Regions from separate parts of the Homo sapiens genome. Here regions 1, 2, 4, 5, 6 and 7 are each linked to region 3. The links are contacts of gene promoters, found by promoter capture Hi-C in blood cells and fetal thymus (Javierre and others, 2016). All regions are on one chromosome and are shown on one strand. Each heading gives the region's core, a stretch centred on a gene start or on the middle of the fragment in contact. The rest is flanking DNA. Distances are from core to core; before and after follow the strand shown.

Region 1 (3,200 bases), core at 345-2,844, 1.6 Mb before region 3:
TCTAGGACCTGAGAGTTTACATATTTTATTGAAAGTTGTCAATAAAATGCTTTTTTTGGAGAGTCGATACACCTACAGACATAGAGGTCCTAATTAGCATCTAAAAATTTTACGTAGCCCATCGTTTATGAAAACCAAAGTAAACTCCCACTTGTCCAGAATAATGCATTTTCTCCTGGGATGAGAAGCCTGAAGGTTGCCTCTGCCTATTTCATGAAAAGGAATAAAATGTAGAACTATCTCTTCCATCTATAATTTTTTTCCCACCCTATTATTGGTAACTTCTAAGATTATAATGTCAATCTGAGATATTGTGTAATGGATAGTAATTAAAGGCTTAAATCTTGACTCAAACAATGAAGTAATGCTGCTCTGAAAGGGGAAAGAAAAACTAAGGTCCATCTCTTCCAAATCTCTCGATGTGGAAGTGCTTGTTTGTAAATTGTCAACTCTGTGTGTATGTGTATGTATTTCTTCTTAAATGATGATTATTTTGGGCAAGTGAAGAGCTTTGATTGTGTCATCTGTGCATAAAATTAGTATGAAAGTAATGAGTTTTTTTTGGTGATTCACTGAATTGTCAGGTGCTAGTTAAATGGCTAAGGCAAAGTCAAGTGACAAAGATTTTCTTAAATCTTTGTTTCAAAGTAATGTAATGGAAACACAGATAAATTTCAATATGATTGTGTTAAAGAAACATTTAGCAAGACAGCAAATAGATGTGTGTGGGTCAAATGGGAGGATGGGTAACTTTAGTACAGGGAAATATAAAATAGTGCATATTCAAGATCATGGACAGTTTAATCATATACATATAAACAGGGACAACCCAGTTTATTTGTTGACTTACTGCTTTTATATTTTATCCTGGAACTCTACTCTATTTTGTTTAATTGACAATGGTTTCTATTTCCCTCTCCTTGAGTAACTATTTTTCATTCCCGAGTTTGGGGGTGGGAAGAGGCTTAAAATATCAGTAAGACAAATGGGAAGAAAGGCGAAACTATCTTTGTCTGCAGGTTATATAACCTGTGTTTATTATGTTTATAAGGGATGAAGATATAGCCACTATAGTATCCAGAAAAAGAGAATCATATTGGTTGGTTCCCATGTGTAGGAAGCATTTCAGGCTGAGCACAGTGAACTTACTAGAGTGCTATCCTCAGCTGATGGAAGCTGAGCTTATGTTGTAAGCAGTGCATATTATTGTATAAAATTTACTGCAAAGGGGAGTGATATGAATAGAGAATGTATACAGTAGCTTACTGCGTGCTAGCAGGTCTTTTCTGGGCTCCTAAATGTTAACTGGATAGTAATGTAAGTTATTACACTCATTAAATTAGGCCACAAACAAGTCAACAGTGATTCAGCAAAATGGCTTTGTTTGTATAGTGCAAGGAAGTCTGATAGATATCCAGTCACACATTTATGGCTAAATGGATGAAGATTTTAACATTACAGCCTAATAAAAACCCCATACTGTGTGATTAAATAAGAGGGAAAGCAGTAAAAAAGAGAACGCGTAATGACGGTAACATGTAGGTCAGTTACAATTTAATTGTCATTGCACTTCATTGCTAACATATCAATTCTCTGCTGCTTAGCTGAGCAGAAAACAACAACTTAACATGTACACTGGGCCCACTGACGAGTCGTCAAACCCCCACTTCCATCACCTGCTTTTGACTACTTCCTTAACAACCACGTGAAGTCTTCCTGCTTTAATAGGATAATCTTGCTGAAAGCTCCTGCTGATTGTTTCTTCCTATGCTCAATGCATCAGTGATCAGTAAATTTACTTCACACTCTACATAGATGCTAAAATTAGATTGTTTGCATTACAACTTTCAATACTTCTGCAACAAGAAACACCTGCCTGCAGATTTATATTGTTTTGTTTAATGGTTTAAAATAAAGATAGCCTCACAGTGGCGATACCTTGATGTACTATATCGGAGGCACACAATGGCTGATCATTTTTCTTACTTATCCAGTTTGTACTGTATTTCTTGCCATATAAGGTATAGCTTCATTATCATTAATTGCAGCTTTAGAAAAACCGAGGAAGTATTTATTCTTGCCAACTTTGCTGCAATTTTACTTATTCAATGCAACTAAGAAATGAGGGGGGTAGAAAAGCGCAGTATATTTAACATTTTTTTCCCTGAATCTGGATAATTCACACAGATCTCAAAGAGGCTTTGGCACCTTTTTAAAATGTTAGCTCTAGAGAATTGTCTGCCTAGCATACTTATGGTGATCTATAGTAAAGACTTAACCGAGTACATAACCAAACTATTAATTCAGGTGCCTAAGGTGACATATTTTATCCAGCTTAGCGTAGTCTATTCCATATAGAATAGAGCACAGCTCTTGGTATAAAAAATGATCTAGCAGAAGCTAGATAATTTTATTAGAATGATTAGAAACATCAACATTTTTTTCTCATTTCAAATCTCATTTTAATTCAGATTTCTGGGAATCAGGCCCATAGATTCCAAATGTTTCAAGTATGTTCTACTGGTAGATTTTCTTCCCTTTGCACCTCATTTTACCTATTTAGATGGAATCATGTGTCATCTAAGGGCAAGAATAAGGTCCTATAGTTCAAGATCATGGACAAGCAGAGCAAAATCCCCAGGAACAAATTCTATCTCTAGAATGATATCTAGAGGCAGTCTCCAAGCAATGAGAGTTATTAGTGATTTGGGAAGAGTCTCGTGGTTACCTCTAAGACTGGCAGCTTATGAATCTCCAATTCTGATTTAAGGGTCAGTAATTGATAGATACTAATCCAGGATTTTAATCATTAAGAAAACATTTATAAGAAAAAAGGGATGAACACAAGGAAGGCATGCTTCTTCTTTATGCACTATGGATGGAAATTCTTTCTTTGAGTTCAACCAGGGAAAGACCGAAGTAGTACAGTACTTTTGGTTTCCATGGTGCTACTTATAAAGATTATGCAAAGTGTTTAATGAATAAGTAACTCCTCTTAACACTTTGTGGATGAGACACTTAAGAGATTTGGACAAAAATAACAATATGAATAAAAAGTTATATGTGGTGGTCCAAATGCCTAGTTATCTGCATATACCCCTGTCTGCTCAACTGCACCAGGAAGATGGCTGTCTTCTATTAAGAGTATTCTTTCTTATCCTTTCTAATAACAAGTACAGGCCAAATTTGTTCCTCTAGCA
Region 2 (3,206 bases), core at 106-2,605, 1.7 Mb before region 3:
AGGATACATAAATAAGGGTCCCTTCCTTTGGGGAATCATAGACTAATTGGGAGACATAATGGAAAACGAAGGGCCACAAAATAAAAATTGAAAGTTACAAGAAAGTAAGTAAATATAATAAGTTACTATATCTGAATGGCTTAGAAATTTCTCTGAATTCAAGAGGTAAGGAAAGAGACAAGGAAGTAAAACATTTATTATGAAACTAAGCTGTTCCAGATGCTTTTTTATGTGTGTTTTATGTAATTATCACACCCGCCTTACAAGGCAGACATGATTATTTCCTTATTTTATGGATGAAGATGACAACTGATCCAAAAGAATGCCTGGCCTGCCAGAAGGTGAACAATCCTGGCTCCTCAGTGACTCCTACCATGGTTCACCTAAGTATGCAGGGGTAGATTTAGATTTTTGAAGCCAGGCCTTTAGTAAGAGTAATCAAGGAAGGCTTCCTGGAAGGGGTGTGCTGATCCAGACAGACAGTATGTGGGCAGGGAGAAATCAGGGTAATTCCTGGCAGAAATTGGCTTGAATAAAATGATGGAGAGATGACTCTGCACACATATTCAGTCAGAGAAGACTTAATGGTAATAGGACATTTATTTAGGGGAAGAGTTAGAAACAATGGTAGAAAGTGTGAAGCTAAGTCTGCATGAATATGAACTAATGATGGTGAAGTGAACCATAGTGCACACTCAAACAAATCACCAATCTTTCAATCATATTGCTATATTCAATCTACAACATAGTATCAATAATATTTAAACCCTATATTAGATTTATAAAAATTGTATTTTATATTAATATTTACAGGTCACATTAAGAAATCAGCTCTTCTTCTCCCTATTATCAATTAATATTTATTGAATTGTTCTTTGATGTAAATATGCTGTGTCAACCCCAAAGTTTCCTACTATCTTATCATCATGGTCATCATTGGCTTTACCTGAGTACAGTCAAGTAAATAAATCACTGTGGGTCCAGATGTATGGGTTGCATTCTGCTGGGGTTTCCAAGGGCACTAGAAATGAAGAATAGCAGGTGCACAAGCATCTCTCTGGGACATCCATAACTTTCTAAAAATCCCCTTTGTCTGACTTTATAATATCACATTCTAAAATATTCAGGTTGCTTTTGTTGTTCTCTCCATAAAAAATTAATGGTCATGAAAGTATTATCATGTTTATTTTAAAGCAACTATTTTCCACATTTTAATTAAAAGTTGTAATTCACCATCTTTTGACCAAGTTATCTTAAATCTTCATCTTATTGGTAATGGGCATTGGGCTAGATTCAGAAAGAAATACAAGTGTGACAATGCAAATAGTAAAATCTCAGCATTTCGAGAGATATGGTTCTGTTCATTTCATGTGCTGTACTAACTCTGCCTTTTTAATTAGAAATATTCTCCCTGCTTATGCAAGAATACTGGGAAAGGGGCATTGTCTTATTCATTATGTATTCCACAAGAATCATAAGTGGACAAAACCAGGCATAATATGATGACTGTTGTGTTATTAAAGCACTTTAATAAGGTTACTCCCTCAGTAGAGTGAGCTTCTCAAATACCCGTTTCTTTTCAAGAGATGAGCTACACGGAGCAAGATGTATGTTGCTCCTCTGTGCACACGTGAGGATGATTTCTGTCTGTATTTTACAGATCTTCATGGCTATCCTACCAGGACTAGTTCTTTTTTAGTTCCCTGTCCTACCTCAGGGATTGATGTCCTAGAAAGTATTGGATATTCTATTTTAGTCCTATGGTATATAACAGGAAATAGTTTGAACTAATGATATATTGAAGAAAGGTCTGTAAACAAAGATTCACTACATCTAGGCATTTCTATGCAATGCGGTGCTGCTATATTTACCTCTTTGTCTACCCTGCCCTCCAACTAGAAAACATTTTAATTAGTATTTCAATCTCTAATCATTTTCATTAAAACAAAATCTTTCATAGTACTGAAGTGTTCTTTAAGAAAGAAAATGGAAAGAGTGAGGAAGGGTGGGAGGCAGGGAAGGAGGAAGGAAGAAGGAGAGGAAAGAGGAGAAGGAGGCCGGGTGCAGAGGCCCATGCCTGTAATCCCAGCACTTTGGGAGGCCGAGGAGGGCAGATCACGAGGTCAGGAGTTTGACACAAGCCTGGCCAATATGGTGAAACCCCGTCTCTACTAAAAATACAAAAATTAGCTGGATGTTGTGGCGGGTGCCTGTAATCCCAGCTACTCAGGAGGCTGAGGCAAGAGAATCATTTGAACCCTGGAGGTGGAGGTTGCAGTGAGCAAGATTGTGCCATTGCACTCCAGCCTGGGCAACAGGGCAAGACTCTCTCTCTCTCTCTCTCTCTCTCTGTCTCTCTCTCTCTCTCTCTCTCACACACACACACACACACACACACACAAAGAGGATAAGGAAGGTGAAAAGGAAGGTTTTTTTTTTAAAGGCCTACCCAATGGCAGCAGAGCAAAGACTTATCTATATGCATTACTTTGATTTCAAATTATTTTTAGCATGGCTTTTATTGTACTCATTGTTACATACATAAATCTTTAAAGTAATACGTTTTGTAAGAAATGGTCATAAAAATTTACAGCCAGTAACTTTTCCCCTGTCCCTTACAATGATATTCTACTAAAACCATTAAATGGTTCTCATTAATGCCCTTTAAATGATTGTGTAATGACCCACAATCGCTTGTAAGTGAACAACCATTAAAGAATTACCAGTTCTTAGCATGCTTTTAAGTACAGCTTAAATACATGGGAGGTAACATATAATATATTAGAAAAAGTATTAAATTCGAAATAGTAAAAACATGATCATCACAAAAGAATGAGTAGGTGTGCAACTTTACCCTGCAATGACCACAGTTCCTACTGAACACATTATTATAGTAGATTTTTACAGCATTTGTGCTTTTTCCTTATTGAATCTTTTCCCTTTTTTTCTGGGATTAAAAATAATAATAATAATAAAACCCTGACACAACAGGAGAGAAAGTACATATAAAAGCAAATGGGGAAAATAATTAAACCCATGTAACAGACAGCCTATCTAAACAAAAGTGAACAGTTCATCCCTCAGATACTTTGTGCACAACAGCAAATATTCACTTTTCCCCTAACCATACAGATATTTGACATGAGACTAGTAAGCTCTTGGATGATTGCATTTTTACACCTCAAAGTATTCTGCATCATGGGAAT
Region 3 (3,156 bases), core at 21-2,520:
CCCGGCCGCCTCCTCCCCCGGCCCTAGCTCCTGCCCTTCGGCGGCGGCGGCGGCGGCGGCGCGGGAGGGCAAGCGCGAGGAGCCGGCACAAAAGGCAGCGGGACAAACACCCACCTCTGGCCGGAACAAAAGGCGGCAGTGCCGGCCGCGTCTCCCGTCCTTCCCGGTCCCACGGCTCTCCCCGTCGCCGCGGCCCCTCTCCCGACTCCGCGGACTCAGGAGCGCCGGGGGCCCCTTTCCACAGTGCCACTTTCTCACTATTGTGGGGATGACTACTTTCCTCCCGCTGCACACTTGACCGTGAGCGCGCTGGTGTCCAAAAGCCAGTCTCACCTCTTTTCTCCCCGGGAATCGTTTTTTAGACTTGTACTCACTCCCTCCCTACCCCCCCATTTTCTTACGGTGAGTGGGAAGCAACCTCCCTTTCCCCACCAGCTCCCACCCCCAGGTTTGCATGTGAGTTGTTCGCAACCTTAGCATTGTTCATTATTTTGCAAAACTGGCGGGGCGGGGGGGGAGTGGAATCATTGCATTCCTTTTCGAAAAGAGAAATAAAGCGGCGGAAAGGAGGAAAGAGGAGGAGTCAAATTTTTGTAAAATTAAATAAAATTAAAAGGTGCGTGCTGTCTCAAAAGTGCATACACGGCAATGGTTCCAGATGGGATGAGGGTTTTTTCCCCCTTTATCTCTTTTACCTCGACTCTCGGAGGTTTTTCTCGTGAAAAATTTAAAAATGCATGCACACACCCCTCTCTCCCCCTCGCTTTTGCTTCTAGTCCTGCGCGCTCTCGTGATTATTAATAATTATTATTACTATTATTGGGTTACTTACGCGAGAATTCCCGTTTGCTTAAGTGCTGGGGTTTGCCTTGCTTGCGGCGAGACATGGTGGGCTGCGGGGCGGGCGGCGGCGGCGGCGGCGGCGGCGGCGGGCGGACGACGGCTCGGTTCACATCGGGAGAGCCGGGTTAGAAAGAAGGAGACTCCAGAGAAAATATCTTCATCAGTGCCTTTTGACATCCAAAATAAATTAGAAATAATACAAAGATGGCGCAGGGAAGATGAATTGTGGGAGAGCCGTCATGGCTTTTTTTTAAGCAAAAAAAAAAAAAAAAAAAAAAAAAAAAAGAGGGAGAGAGAGAGAAGAGAGATAGAGGGAGAGAGAGAGAGAGAGATGAAAAAAATGGCAAAAGCCCCCCTGAGCTGCAAGTTCAAGTGCGGACGTGACGTCCCTGCGAACTTGAACGTCAGGAGTCTGGATGGACAGAGACACACAAAACATGGGCAGGGCGAGCAGGAGAGAAGGGGAGGAGGGAAGGGGAAGCTCACACCAATGGACACACATCAGGGGCTGGACATGAAAAAGAGACCAGGACAAGCCAATGGCCAGTGCGGGGAGGGGGAGGTGCGGGGCGGGGGGCTCCGCGGACGCCAGACGCGGCCCCCGGGGGAGGGGCGGGCCGAGGGGAGGGGGCGCTGGGGCCGCGGGCTCACCAGTGGCCGCAGCGAGCGCCGCGGCGGTGGCGTGGCCGGGAGAGAAGAAAGGGGTGGCAGGGGTGGGAGGAAAGGGTGGGGGGGAGCAAGACGTGCGCCCTGCTCCCCCCCACACACGCGGACTCTAAAATGAAAGATTATTCAAAAAAGAAAAAAATAGAGCGAGAGTGCACCGGGAGGCTGCAGCCCCGGGCTGGGGAAGCGCGGGCGGAGGGAAGCCAGGTAGAGTTGCTCCCGGACACCCTCCTCCGTACGCACACCCACTTCCCCTCCCCGCCGCCGCCGCGCTCGCTCCCCGCGTGTGGACGCCAGGGGCCGAAGTAAAAGCCCCGAGCCCGCGGCTGCGCTCGGGAAACTTTGCCCGAGGAGAGGACAGCAAAGAAAAATCACCCGAAGTTGAGAGCTGAGCCTCCAAGTTACAGCTCCGCAGCGGGCGAGGGGAGGTGGGAGGGAGCGCACGGCAACGCGGAATCCAGCCTAAGTTTGGAGGGCTGCGGGTCCGGAAGGGCAGCGCCCAAGTCTCCAGGAGCCCGCGCGGCCTGGAAAGAGGGGACCGGGGAGAGGCAGGCGGCGCAGGCCGGGGCCCGAGGGCGCCCCCAAGGCCGAGCCAGGGACCGGGAATCTGAGCGCCCCGCCAAGCGACTGGGTCTGAATGCAACTGAAAGCGCCGAGTCCCCGGCTCCTAAGGGTCGCAGAAAGAGAGCCCGAGGAATAAAGAACGAGGAGCCAGAGTCTGGCCCCCGGAGGGGAGCGCCGGGGGCCTGGGCAAGAGAGGCACCGAGGCGTCCACCTCTCTGAGAGGCCGAGGACAAAGCGCGGGCAGTCCCGGGAGTCCCAGTCCCTGGGAATGTGCTCACGGCGCCGCGGGAGGTCCCCGAGCCGGGTCCCTGGGAGGGACACACCCCCTCCCACTCCAGAGCAACTGCAAAAGCACAGAGGGATGGGAAGAAAATGTTTCTTACGGGCAGAGCACAACTGTTCCTGTGCTGTTACCCAGGGAAAGAGAAAATGGGAATGGAGAGAGAGCGACAGGCTCGCAGGAGCAGCGGGGAGACCACGGTGGTGAGATGACCGCCTCGGGTCACCGCCGCGCTCCCCAGGCGCCGCCGGCCAAGGCGCACACCCAGGAGCCAGCAGCCCCCTCTCGCCTTTCTGCAGACGTTCCCTGGAAATTAGGGAAGACCTGTTGGAAATAAAACCCTGTCTCTTTAATGCACACACGCACACACACGCGCGTGCTGCCGCTGTCAAAAAGCGGGCTTCACTCTGGCGTGGGATACTTTCAGTTTTACGTAAAATGTACAGCAACAGCACCCCCTGCGATTGGAAAGTTTATTCAGAAACGTGCCTGTAAAGTCCCCTGGCGCCTCCCGCCTCCCAGCCTCCCTGCCTGCCAGCACCACTCTGCAGCCGCCGCCGCCGCCGCCGGGGAGATCGCAGTCCGATTCCAAATCTGGAAGGAGTTGGGGGGAGAGGAGAATGGACTCAGGTCCAAGGGAGGTGCGGAGGGTGCAGGGTGGAGACGGGTCGCCATGGCCCGCGAGACCCTGAGCTGCAGGTGGATATGTGTGAGTGTGTCTGCAGAGCGAGGAGCCCTCCTTCCCTCTCCTCGGAGCGGTTCCACAACCCCCGTCTTCTCATCCCCCTCTTCAGTCTAAAGGG
Region 4 (3,284 bases), core at 14-2,513, 1.6 Mb before region 3:
GAGTAATGCAATGGCCTCCACCTCCCAGCCTTTAGGACCGAAGTGATGGAGTTAAAGAATCGAACTTTCTCTTGAAAGCCAGTGGCAGCCCCACATCCACGTTAGGTTTGAGGGGTGGCTCTCCTCCCTGACTGGCTAGTAGGTGAGGTCCTTGGTATGTTCATGCCTTCTTACCTGAAGCCTCTCCCTCATTTTAATTCCAATTGATTTCACCTTAGTTGTGCTCAGATTTTGTGGGTTTGTTCAAACTGCTCTTGGGAGTAACACAAAAGTATTAACATTTTGCTGACTCCAGGACTTTAGAAAAGTTAAGCTTGAGTGAAAAACAAACTGACGGATTCAAATAATACAAACGCACCCAATTTCAAATCATATTCTCTCTTGCCTTGTCTCACAATGCTGGGCTGCCTCCCTTTACAACACAGCTGCAATCTCAACACTCCATTCCAACCCGCTCTGTGACAAAGCGTAAGGTTCCACCTCTGAGCAGGTAAAATATGTTTGTTAGGGAAGGACTGCTCGGCAGTAAGGATGACAACAATTAGCACATGCTACTCATTAACAAACGGAGATTAGAACGCAGCCGAAATGGCAAGCTGCCATCAGTGTGATAGTTACGGGGCAGTTTAATTTCTAACGAATGTGAGTGCTGGATCAGTAACAATATTCGACAAAATGCCGCCTGCATTCTCTTATGGCTTTCATTACCAAATTGAAAATCTGTGTAGATTTCTGAAAATTACTTTTAAATGTAGCCAATCTCCTAGACTGCAAGGCTTGATTTGCTGGTGAGGGAGCCCTGCTGTGAGATTTTAATGAAAGATCATAGTGGCCCTCCAAGGCCAGCAAAGAGCTATGGGCCCTGGAAGACCCGAAATAATCTGTTTTACTTTTAATGGCAGCCATTTTATATTCATTAAGATCAAAATGCAGTTTTGCAGGCAAATTGCAAAGCTGTTCCACTCACAGCTTGAGAACCTGGAGGCCCTACAGCTTTTTATCTTGTTCATAAGCAAATATGCAGTTAATATCTTTTAATATGCTTTGATGCTTGGTACCTTATGGGTACATCGTACCGGAGGTTAGAGAACTGCATGTTTCCTTGGCACAGCCAGCCACGAACTAAAGCGGTAGTCCTTTTATTTCCATAATGGCAGAAGAAATGAGTCTCTCTTTTTTTATCCCCTCCCCATTTTTTAAAAAATATGAGCTCTGCTCAAATAGATTGTAAGGTGCTGTATAGTGTACATTCAGGGTCTCAGAGAAGGGGCAGTTTTTCACTGGGATCTGTCTGTTGGTGGTTCATATTATTTAAATTTATACAGTCACATTATTTAAATGTAAACAGCCAAATAAGATATGATCAAATCATTGGCATCTGGAAACTGTGCTCTCATCCTCTTTGATTGTGAGGTTGTCTGCATTAATAATGGAGTTCTAAAGACTGTGATTCCACCTGATATACTGTATGACCTTAACAGTTGTGATTTTATCAGGGTTTCACTGTAGTAGAAAATGAAGGTATTTTGCAGCTCATTTCCAGCAAACCTAGTTTGCATTATCTTCTGTCCAGAGTAGTCCTGCCTGTTTTGTGTTATAAAATATCACCTCCCCCATTGCCCCCTTTCTGCTGCACAGCTGTACTTCCGGTCTGGAACCATGTTGTAGATTAAATTCCATCAGATTTCTTGTAGAAGGTAAATGGTACTGTGTTTAATGACAAAAGAAGGAAGGAAGGAAGGTCAGGGAGGAAGGAAGGAAGAGAAGTCAGTAAGGTGGGGAGGAAGGAAGGGGGGAAAAAGAAAGGAAGGTGGGATTGAGAGGGGAGAGAAGGAAACACTGCACTTCCTCCTCCAATTCATCAATTTCTATCTCATCTCTAAGACAAGAAATAAGGTTGATGCAAGTGGATCTTATTACTCAACCCCCAACTCCATCTTAATTCTGCCTAAAGCAATAGGCAGGCGTTAGATATAATAGTCTAGAATCACAGGACTCTCCAATACTAACAAAAATAATATTTAAGGGGTACTTTTTGGTAGAAAAAGGACCAGCCAGGTCTATTTCAATTTGCCCAAAGATTTGGAGGCTAGGCCAACAACAAACAGAACTTTTGCTCCTTTACCCAAATTATCTTGGTTTTTGAATGCACCCAGGGCGTCAAAGTCAGTCTTAGAACCAGGGCGGGAATGGGAACCCTTTTTGGTGGGAGCAAAGCTTTCCATCACTATGCAGCATCAGATGAGGGTGTTGTGCTTTTTTTTTTTTTTTTTTTTATTTCACTCTATAGCCATTGAAATTTTAGCCCTCTTGAAGAGCACTGTAGGGCTAGCTAGTTTAAGAATGGGAGTTAGCTTCTTTATGCAAGTTAATACCCATTGTGCTGTCTCTAAAAAATAATGTACGTTAAGACAGCTCCACAGAAAGGCCAGCCTTTGTATCTCCAGGCCCGCCCAACCTTTGTACTTAACCGTGCCCACAGGCATATTATAATATTGTATGACATGTTTACAAGTCCTAACATCTTACTTTGTGCAACTGCATAGCTTCTTTGCAGGCTCAAGAATTCAAGCTTGGACTGTCTGATGAGGGAATTTGATAACCCCCTCTCCCTGGGTCTCAGAGCAAGGTGAAGGTGTCTGGCCTGCCAAGGCACAATTTAATGGTCTTCTGAAAACACTCAAAAGGCAGACATAAATGTGTGGATGGGCAGCCAGCCAGGCTGACCTGGGGGATGGGGCCAGTTGATTTTAAGCAGGGTGAGGTCGGGAAGGAATGTTTCAGACCAGAGCTGGCTGCGGGGGTTGGGGGTGGAGGCGGTCTCTGGAAGCCTGAGGGTTGACTGTAAAGGATTTACAGAGCTCGAACTCGACTCTGTAACCTAAGAGCTCAAGCATTCCCACCTGTCCAACTTTAAAAGGGAAATGGAAAATGTAAAGAACATATAATTAATTTCAATTACAAGCCTCACATATCTCAAGCCAGATAGGCACTGTCTTCATTTCCTGTCAGTTCAATGGGCTCCAATACAAAAGTCACGTAAATTAAATTAAATTAAATTAAAACATAAAATTCCCTCTCACACATCTCTGTTTTCTATTCTTAATGCCTCTTGACAGTTAGTCTTTGATATGCTACTTTTTTTTCTGCACAACACATATACTTTAGATGTCGATTTCCAATCAGTCTTTCATCTTTATGTTGCATCATCCACTATCATGGGACAACTATATATCAAGAATCTTTGGAAAGATGACCAGAGAAGGAATGGGAATACACTTAAA
Region 5 (3,045 bases), core at 286-2,785, 1.2 Mb before region 3:
AGAATGTCAACGTATTGGAATTTTCCACTCCTTAAAGTTTCTTGTGAACATGTCTGGACCTAGTGCTTTTGGGATATGGGGCATGGACACATGTTGCACAGGAAAAAAGATAGATTTCATTTTTTGTTTTTACTTTTAAACAGCTTTGTTGAGATAAAATGTACATACCATGAGGTTCACCCACTTAATATGTACAATTCAATGATTTTTAGTGCATTTGCAGAGTTATGCAACCATCACCATAATCGTAATATTTTTAATATGCCCAAAGGAAAACACAAACCAAATAGCACTTACTCTAACTCCCCCATCCCCAGTTCTAGGTGACTACTAATCTCTTTTCTATCTCTGTAGATTTTCCTATTGGGACATTTTTAATAAAAGGTTTCATATAAGGCACGGTGTTTTGTGACTAGCTTCTTTCATAGCATAATGCTTTCATGGTTCATCCATGTTGTAGCATGTATCAATACTTCATTTTTTATATTGCCAAATAATATCCATTGTGTGGATATATCATGTTTTATTTATCCATTCATCAGTCGATGGGCATTTGGGTTGTTTCTACTTTTGGCTATCATGAATAATACTAATGTGAACATTTGTGTACAAGTTTTTCTGTAGACATATGTTTTTATTTTTCTTGGTTATATACCTAGGGCGGTGTAGAGAATTTGAAGAGCTTGGTGGAGGTTCAATGGGAATTTTAGAAGTTAAGATCCTTTGGGGAGAAATTAAGAGATTTAAAAATATTTAATATCAAAAAAATTTTAGAGGATACACAAAAAGATATCAGATGGATTACCTGGATTATATGATAACTCTATATTTAACATTTCAGACACTCGAAAACTGTTCTCCAAAGTAGCTGCACTACCTTATATTTCTTTTAGCAGTGTATATTTCTTTTAGCAATGTATTTCTTTCAGCAAAGTATATAAGGTATATGTTTACCTTATATTTCTTTTAGCAAAGTACCTGCACTACCTTATATTTCTTTTAGCAGTGTATACTTCCAATTTCTCACGTCCTCACCCATACTTGTTATTATTGCTTGTCATTTTGATTGGAGGTTTTGAAGTGGTATCTTGTTATGATTTGCTGTCTACCTAGTGACTAATGGTACTGAGCATCATTTTATGTGTATTCACAATTTGTATATCACCTCTAAAAATATCTATTTAAATATTTTGCCTATTTTTAATTGGATCATTTGTCTTTTTTAACAAATACTTTTTAAGTTCAGGGGTACAAGTGCAGGTTTGTTACATAGGTAAACTTGTGTCATGGGGGTTTGTTTTACAGATTATTTCATTACCCAGGAATTAAGCCTAGTACCCATTAGTTATTTTTCCTGATCTTCTCCCTCCTCCCACCTCCACCCTCCAAAAGGCTCCAGTGTGTGTTGTTTCTCTCTACGTGTCCATGTGTTCTTATCATTTAGCTCCCACTTATAAGTGAGAACGTGGTATTTGTTGATTTGTAAGAGTATTTTATATATTCTGCACACAAGTCCCTTATCAGATACATTATTTGCAAATATTTTCTCAGTACATAGGTTATCTTTTTACTTTCTTTTGAAGTCCTTTAAAGCAAAACATTTTTAATTTTGAGGAAGTTCCATTTGTCAGTCTTCTCTTTTATCACTTGTGCTTTTGGTGGCATATCTAAAAAGTCATTGCCAAACCCAACATACAAAGATTTACTCTCATATTTTCTTCTGAGTTTTATAGCTTTAGCTTTTATATGTAGGTCTATGATCTACTTTGAGTCCATTTTTGTGTATGATGTGATGCAGGGGTCCAAATTCATCTTCTACATGTGGATATTCATTTATCTCAGATATAAGTTTTTGTTAGATGTTGTTAATATTTAAATTATAAGAATGTATTCAGAAATATTTGGATAAATGAGCAGGAAAGAGAACCACCCTATTCACAGAAAATGCCGAGAATAAAATCCTTATTCTGTTGATATTTATAAGATAATAGATATAATCTGGTGATCCAGAAGTAGATTTTATAATTTTTTTCAAATTTCCAAACTATCTATGAAAGGAAGGGTTATCTGGTAATATAATTTTTAAAAAGCACTTACAATATGTCTGTACAATGAAAGAATCTATAGCTATTAAGAAAAATAGCTTGTCTCCACATGCATGAATATGGAAAGATTCCAAAATACATTAGGTAATAAAATTAAGTTACAGAAATGTATTTATATCTTATAAACATTTGTGTAAACACACACACACACACACATATCGACTGCAGGTAAATGTATAGAACATTTCTTGAAGGCTATATCCAAAATGATAGTCAAGAAATTGGCAAAATGTTTGCCCTAGATGGAATAGTGGGTGGTTGGGTGGTCAAAAGAGAGATGGAAACTTACTTTTCACTCAATGCCATTTTCTACCTTGTAAGTTTTGAGCAATGCGTATGTCTTACCTATTTAAAACTCAATAAAACTAATAAAAACAGCTTATTAACTTTACTAAATTTTACTAGAAAATGTCTTTCTCAAGTTGCCTGTAAAATATTGACTGTAGAACTCTAATATATTTCCTATTAAATAATATGACTATACAAATGATTCCACAAAAGTTACCAATCCAAATTCCTTGAACATGCTAACACTGCAGCCAGAACCCACTCGATATGAAACAACATTCAGAAATTACCCAGAAAGAACATATTATATGGTATTCTTCTTAAAGAGAATGTGGCACATTAGCATACATTACATTTGCTTATTCACAAATCTCAGAACATTCAAACAAAAAACTCTCCTTGAATTTTGAGAAAGGTATAACTACATGATACATAAGAAATTTATAGAGGCCAAGGAGTCATAAATCACGTTCTTTATGAAGAAGACATAGATGGGAAGGAGCCAAGATGGCCGAATAGGAACAGCTCCGGTCTACAGCTCCCAGTGTGAGTGACGCAGAAGACGGGTGATTTCTGCATTTCCAACTGAGGTACCGGGTTCATCTCACTGGGGTGTGCAAGACAGTGGGTGCAGGAGAGTGGGTGCAGCACA
Region 6 (2,925 bases), core at 78-2,577, 2.0 Mb before region 3:
AACATCAGTGACCCAAAACGGGCTGGGTGCAGAACTTCTTTGGCAGCTTGGCCACATGGCTCTGAGGAAGTCATGAAATCACTTTGAACAATGCATTCCTTAAATAAGAATGTGAATTAGGTGGTCTCTCAGGACCCTTGGCCTCTAAAGTTGTATGATTCTGTGAAGGTCAGACCTTGCATAAATTCCAGTACAACCCTCTCAGATGCAGCAAGAAAAAGTAGTTTATATTGCCATAATATATGCTGCAAAATTTAATAGAATGATGGACCGCTTCCTGAAAACAGTTGAGCAAAAGCGTTATGCTACAAAAAACTATATATGATGGTTTCCTTAGAACTGTGGTCAGTATTGGGGCAGATTTGGGTAATTACAACAGCCAAACATAGTAATGACATTCTGAGACATTTATACTTTTGAGATGACAGTGGATAAAACTCATTGTAATACTTCATAATTTTAGTAATATTTTAACACAGAAGCCTAGTCCACAGATATCCTGGGACACACACCTATGCACACACACAATTTATTTACCTAGATGGAAAGGAAGTCACATATAATTTGTATGGGAACTTTCAAAGGCGCTTACACTAAAGCTTTTCTAAGCCACTTTTAAATTATATCTTCATTACACAAATGGAATATTGCTCAAAGAACCGCTGACTGAGAGAAGTGGCAAGCAGTCTTCCCAGACTTTATTCAGTATTCACATCCAATCACATGGGTAAACATAAATACATCACAATGCTTATTCAAACACTCACAAGTTATCTATAGAAGACAAACTACCATATATTCTCCGAAACAGATTTTTCTTCCATTTCCCTTTTTCATTTTGCATCTAGTGTATTGACTGAAATTCATCTGGTTTTTTGTTTTTTCTTTTCTTGAAGCAAATTATAGGCCCCTCCTGGCTCCACCTATAATTTTTCACATTTTCTTGAGACAAACTACAACACATTGACACGAAGTTACTGGCAAACAGAAATTCTAGAAAGTATCCAAAAGGGGTTAGGAGTCTGACACTTGGCCTCCTGACCTGAGGGGAAAGTAGATTTCCGTCGAGGCTGCAGTCTTGGGACTTCCGCCTTGAGGAGCCAATCTTGGCCCTCATGTTCCGGATAGCAGGAAAGGAAGGGATATACCTGCGAGTGGTTTTTGTGCTAGTACAGACACTAGGGGGTGTCCAAGGACCAAATGTATTCCTCCTTCCCTTCAGCCTTGTCTTAGGTCCAGCTAACTTAAAAAGTGCAGGAGCTAAGGGAAAATCCATCCAATTAATTCCTGTCTTGTGCCGAAATAAATAATGTGGGGTCAGTTTCATCATCAGGCCCCGATTCCCTTGGATCTCTGGCAGCCTTTGTAATCTCAGGGTTCAGAGCTGGCACCATCCCGTATTTAAGCTACAGGTGATGAGAATGAGGTGCTCTGTTATCAAATGCTTTTTACTTCTGTGTGTGTCAGAATTTACTTGTTGTTGAAAAGAGGTCACCAATTTTCCTTTTCTTTAGTGTTTCAGTTTAGGTCTGTTCACACTAAACTATGAAGGGCGGGGGGGAATTGTAAGAAGGCAGATTTCTGCCTTCTCATTCTTGTGGGGTCCCATTTGCTTTTTATTGTGGATTATTTGTTAATTATTACTTATTAGAAAACATTGGCCCTTGCTACTGTAGACATCTTCAGGCCTTTGGGCATGGGTCTCTTTATGAATACCTATTACTTCTTAATTATGATGGTTTAATAAGATACGTCTTTCATTTTCATCTCCTATCTCTCTTCCCCTATGATTCTTCTCCTTTTGCTATTGGTCCCTGAGGGCATGTTACTGGCTCCTTTTTCTTTATTGCTCCCATCTTCCCTTTGCCCCTCCTGGTAAATTAAAAAAATAAATAGAATGCATTTTAAGGATGACAACAGTAATAATAAAGCCAGGAATTGCTTTCCAGCTAAATGCACTGATTGGAAGTCCTATTGAAAATAGCATAAACCTAATTGAAGTAGTCAACCCCTCCCATATAGGTCATGCTATGCTCTATTAAAATGAAGGTAAAACAAAGCTTGTGACATTTCTGCATTTCCCAGACTGACTTTTCCTAAGACATATCGATAGTATTGACAATAGTATTGCATTGTGCTCCCTAGTGACCCAGCCTGTCATCTTGTGGTCCTGGATAATTCTTTCTTAATGAAACCTTATTGTGTCCTTTACCTATAACAATCAACAGAAAAATAATTATGTTTCAACATATAGAAATAAAAAATTTGAAATAAATCAAAATTGTAGCAATTAACTAACCAGTAACACTGATCATTTGGATAATGTGGATGTTCAGTACCCGCCAATTGTGGCCTGTTAAAGATGCAAATACGTTTTCTAAATTTATGAAAATACACAAGTTGCTAAAGAAATGTCTGATGTGAAATTATCAGGAGAGTTGGGATTATATATAAGGAGTTATTATTTGATTTCATTTTGAATAATTTAAGTAGTCTGTCTTCAAGAGTCATTATTTGGTCCTAAGCTTTATTACTGAAGTTTCTTATATTCCATGGAACTGACTATCAGATTTGATGGCAAAGCACTAGCAGCTGGGAAACTGCTCTTTCTCTCCCCTCTCATTTCCCAAACAATGTTTGCACTGATTAATACTATGCAACAAGACATGACGCAGAGATTGTGTTGGCATTGTGTTCTGATGACCCCACACATTGTGTGCGCTCTGTGGTTCCTTTTGCTGTTCATAGTTATATGGGTTTATCAGAAATTACATGTCAGGCTCCCGATGAGTGTAATTGTATACTGATTGTGTATAGTTTTTTAAACCTCATTATTAGCCTTGTATGCAAACCAAATAAAAGGAAAGTTTAAAAAAGGAGAAAGAAAATAGCCTCCACTGGACGTCATGTCAGAGCCCAGGTGTT
Region 7 (3,014 bases), core at 31-2,530, 1.5 Mb before region 3:
TAACCTTATTTTAGATTCAAGGCCAATAAGAACTTTATACAATCTTCTGGACAAAGCTTGCTACATCCTAATCTCTGCAAATCCACTCTGTTCTATTCACCGCTCTCCTTATTAATCAGTTCTACAAAGCTGTACCCTTCTCAGTACTGTTACACACACTGCATTTTTATGTTTCTGTTTCAGAGTGGCCTTTTCTATATTTTTGCTTTGCCTTGCATTCAATTACCCATAGCTTGTCCTGTAGAATAGGATACTATCACTGCCTACATTTAGGCCACAGCACATTATGTCATCTGGAGTCATATATTTTACTTCTGCCTCTTTTAGGAGGAAACTCATTTGAGAAATCTTGGCTCTGCCTTTGGGGAGGAATCATTTACCTTCTTTCATCTGGGCTGAAATTTGCCTCCTCATTTCTTTTGTTAATAAAAAAAAGAAAACTTATTTACATCTTCTCAGATCCTATTAGTTAGCTCAATTGCCTAATTGTTGCAGTTTTAAGAAAGACCTAGTCATTTTCTTACTTTCCATCCTTGTTGGTCTATTTCTTGGGTTACACAATTCTACATTCATGTCTGCCTACTTTCTTTGAGAACCTTTTTCTGTTTCACTTTGCTGTGCAGCATCATGTGCATGGTTCATTTCCTTGCCACACATAGGAAATATGGCTAAACCATCCCACTACAAAAGAGTAGAGAGAAAGATAGTGGGCCTGGCAATATCGCCCATCACCTTGACCTCTCTGTCTGAGGATAGGGGCAGGCTGGAATCTGTGTTTCTGTATGAATTTGGCCTGATTTTTCTTCCCTTTTTTCTTCTCTAATGTCTTAATAGTTCCTTAGAATGAATTTCCGTACCTAAAATGGATCTCCCCCTTTCTCTCTTGACAACGCTGAGTGAACCAGGGTGTGAGATATTACCCATGCAGTCCACTCTCTGAGAGGTATCGCTGGATGAAGCCATGCTGCTCATCTGCCATTCTGTACCCAACTGTGGATAATAACGGAATTGATTTTACCTGAGGAAAGACAAAGGAACCTCGGGCTGCTTTTTGCATTATTTTGTTCTCAGGTTATTCTGCTCTGAATGGTGAGATCTCTCACTAGAATATTGGGTCACATTTAGCTTTCTTTATGGCAAATCCCCTGTGTGGGAACTTCTGGCAATGAGCTGTGAGGTGTTACTATTCTGTGTTTGTGTGTGTGTGTGTGTGTGTTGTCAAAGTATAACGAGTAAGTTTATGTTTTCAAGTCCTCTGAATGCTTTTTCTTTTTTAAATGTGTTTTTAAGAAAGCATATCTTAAGTTGGAGACTAAAACTTGGCTTTCAGATCCTCTGGATGGTGACTTTAAAGAAGTCTATTCTTGAATAAATTGTAATATGACCATAGATAAGCCAACCTACACATATTATAAGGGCAATAATGATAATAGCCATTATAAATTGAGTGCTTAGTACTTCTCATGCATGTTCTAATTGCCTCATGCTTATTAATTTACTAAATCCTTATAATAACTTCATTAGGCATACATTATTTTTATCTCTATTTTACAGATGCAGAAACTGAGGCACAGAGCAAGGGTAAGTAAATTGTTCAAGCCATATAAGTGGTAAGTGGCAGGTGGCCTTGGCTCCTAAATCTAGACTCTTAAATGGTGAACTTCTCTGCCTCATTGAGAGAAAAATCTACAATGTCTCGTATAGTAACCATCATGTGAGCAAGATGTTTTACAAATATTTTAAGGAAATGTTGATAAAATAATGTGTAATTATAAGTGATTTTATTTCTGTCACTCTGTGGTTTTTTAAACTATATTATCCCTTTATGTTAAAACAACCCAAGTTATCTTGAGTTATGTGGAGAATTCAGGAAAGTTAACATATAATGGTTGTCATCTTAAAAAAATCTGGTGTATTTGCTATATGAACCCTTGAGTTATTACTTTTATTTTAAATCTCTCTGTATTTTCTGTTGACTCTTATTGATACTTTTATTTAGGTGAGAAGGCATATACACCCACTGAGGCTGTCTCTGGAAAGTGTTGAAAGAGGGTCAGGTAGAAGTCTCAGTTTTTGCCTGTGCTTAAAATGTGTAACTAAGAGAAATGTATTCCAGGGATGGCCTTCATAGTTAAGTGTTTACAAAGAAAGATATTAAATATATAAGGACCCATGGTCACCCTAACTTTCTGAGCATTGTTAACTTTGGGTCTGATTCTCTTAGCTCACTGCCTCAGAGTTGCCATGGATGTGCTTGGTAGTCCTGTGTACACACAATGAATGTATTGGATGTCTTGGAATTTTGAAAGTTCAGGGAATATTGGATTTTATGTATTATATATTACCTATTACTTGCTGGAGTAGTTTGCTTCTGTTTCTTATAGAGTTAAGAATAGAATTACTATTCTGGTAGTCTTGCACAAGTATGACCCTTTAGATTATGTGAATAAGCATCAAATTGGTGGCAAGGATTTACAAATTAGTACAAGTTAACATAAGTATCATAAAGCTTTGTGGGACCCAAAAAGAGTTATTTATGTTCAGCTCTGGCTCTAACCAAGTCATCACCATTGGATCAATGCATCAGATCAAGAATAAGTAGAGCCCCAAAGTCACACCATCCTATCAAAATAATTATCTATAATTAATATAATTATTGATCATGTAGTAGAAGTCACTGCCTGATGATACAGGGCTTTTAGGATTTCATGGGAATGCTTCACAACCTAATTATGTTTCCCTGGGAGATTATAATATAATTCAATTAATTTTTCCCATGTGTTTCATCAATCATTATGTGGATAGAAGGAATATCAGAATCTCATTTCTATGTCAATTCCTGCAGAATGTAGACAAGTCATTTCAGTAGAACAGAGCTGATTAGAAGATAGGGTTCCTCCCACAGGAAAATTATACCCTATGCCACTTGTAATGCTGGTGCCACATTCTGTTGGTTTTGTAGTATGTGATGAGGATAGCTACAAAAATCTGTGATATCCCTGTTCCAGCTTATA

The links. The method cuts DNA at HindIII sites, captures the fragments that hold promoters and counts their contacts. A CHiCAGO score of 5 or more calls a contact.
Region 1: a contact is called between a fragment that was not itself captured here and the fragment with the promoter of BCL11A in region 3, in 1 of 17 cell types (megakaryocytes). The highest score is 6.1, in megakaryocytes.
Region 2: a fragment that was not itself captured here is called in contact with the fragment with the promoter of BCL11A in region 3 in 2 of 17 cell types (megakaryocytes and M1 macrophages); the score reaches 6.1 in megakaryocytes.
Region 4: a contact is called between a fragment that was not itself captured here and the fragment with the promoter of BCL11A in region 3, in 2 of 17 cell types (endothelial precursors and megakaryocytes). The highest score is 10.9, in endothelial precursors.
Region 5: a contact is called between a fragment that was not itself captured here and the fragment with the promoter of BCL11A in region 3, in 1 of 17 cell types (megakaryocytes). The highest score is 5.3, in megakaryocytes.
Region 6: a fragment that was not itself captured here is called in contact with the fragment with the promoter of BCL11A in region 3 in 1 of 17 cell types (endothelial precursors); the score reaches 5.7 in endothelial precursors.
Region 7: a fragment that was not itself captured here is called in contact with the fragment with the promoter of BCL11A in region 3 in 1 of 17 cell types (naive B cells); the score reaches 5.1 in naive B cells.

Annotation. Positions count from the first base shown.
Region 1 is chr2:58,904,906-58,908,105 of GRCh38, forward strand. The region is part of intron 3 of LINC01122 (long intergenic non-protein coding RNA 1122); the gene reads left to right. Among named protein-coding and RNA genes, the nearest start is that of LINC01793, 310 kb to the right of the region's middle. The HindIII fragment of the contact is 5,186 bases long and covers 1-3,200 here.
Region 2 is chr2:58,878,536-58,881,741 of GRCh38, forward strand. All of the region lies in intron 3 of LINC01122 (long intergenic non-protein coding RNA 1122), which reads left to right. Among named protein-coding and RNA genes, the nearest start is that of LINC01793, 340 kb to the right of the region's middle. The HindIII fragment of the contact is 3,843 bases long and covers 1-3,206 here.
Region 3 is chr2:60,552,384-60,555,539 of GRCh38, forward strand. It overlaps BCL11A (BCL11 transcription factor A), which reads right to left and starts at 1,271. Exons shown (of 4, transcript NM_022893.4): 1 at 833-1,271. The coding sequence starts at 887. RefSeq lists silencers at 1-341, 1,751-1,840, 2,781-2,910 and enhancers at 2,531-2,580, 3,155-3,156. The HindIII fragment of the contact is 6,342 bases long and covers 1-3,156 here.
Region 4 is chr2:58,971,423-58,974,706 of GRCh38, forward strand. The region is part of intron 6 of LINC01122 (long intergenic non-protein coding RNA 1122); the gene reads left to right. Among named protein-coding and RNA genes, the nearest start is that of LINC01793, 240 kb to the right of the region's middle. RefSeq lists an enhancer at 348-1,972. The HindIII fragment of the contact is 1,904 bases long and covers 312-2,215 here.
Region 5 is chr2:59,323,422-59,326,466 of GRCh38, forward strand. The region is part of intron 2 of LOC105374754 (a long non-coding RNA gene); the gene reads right to left. Among named protein-coding and RNA genes, the nearest start is that of LINC01793, 110 kb to the left of the region's middle. The HindIII fragment of the contact is 6,474 bases long and covers 1-3,045 here.
Region 6 is chr2:58,570,252-58,573,176 of GRCh38, forward strand. All of the region lies in intron 1 of LINC01122 (long intergenic non-protein coding RNA 1122), which reads left to right. Among named protein-coding and RNA genes, the nearest start is that of LINC01122, 51 kb to the left of the region's middle. RefSeq lists an enhancer at 2,343-2,925. The HindIII fragment of the contact is 1,461 bases long and covers 598-2,058 here.
Region 7 is chr2:59,021,402-59,024,415 of GRCh38, forward strand. LINC01122 (long intergenic non-protein coding RNA 1122) reads left to right here. Exons shown (of 14, transcript NR_033873.1): 10 at 1,555-1,581. Among named protein-coding and RNA genes, the nearest start is that of LINC01793, 190 kb to the right of the region's middle. The HindIII fragment of the contact is 2,453 bases long and covers 55-2,507 here.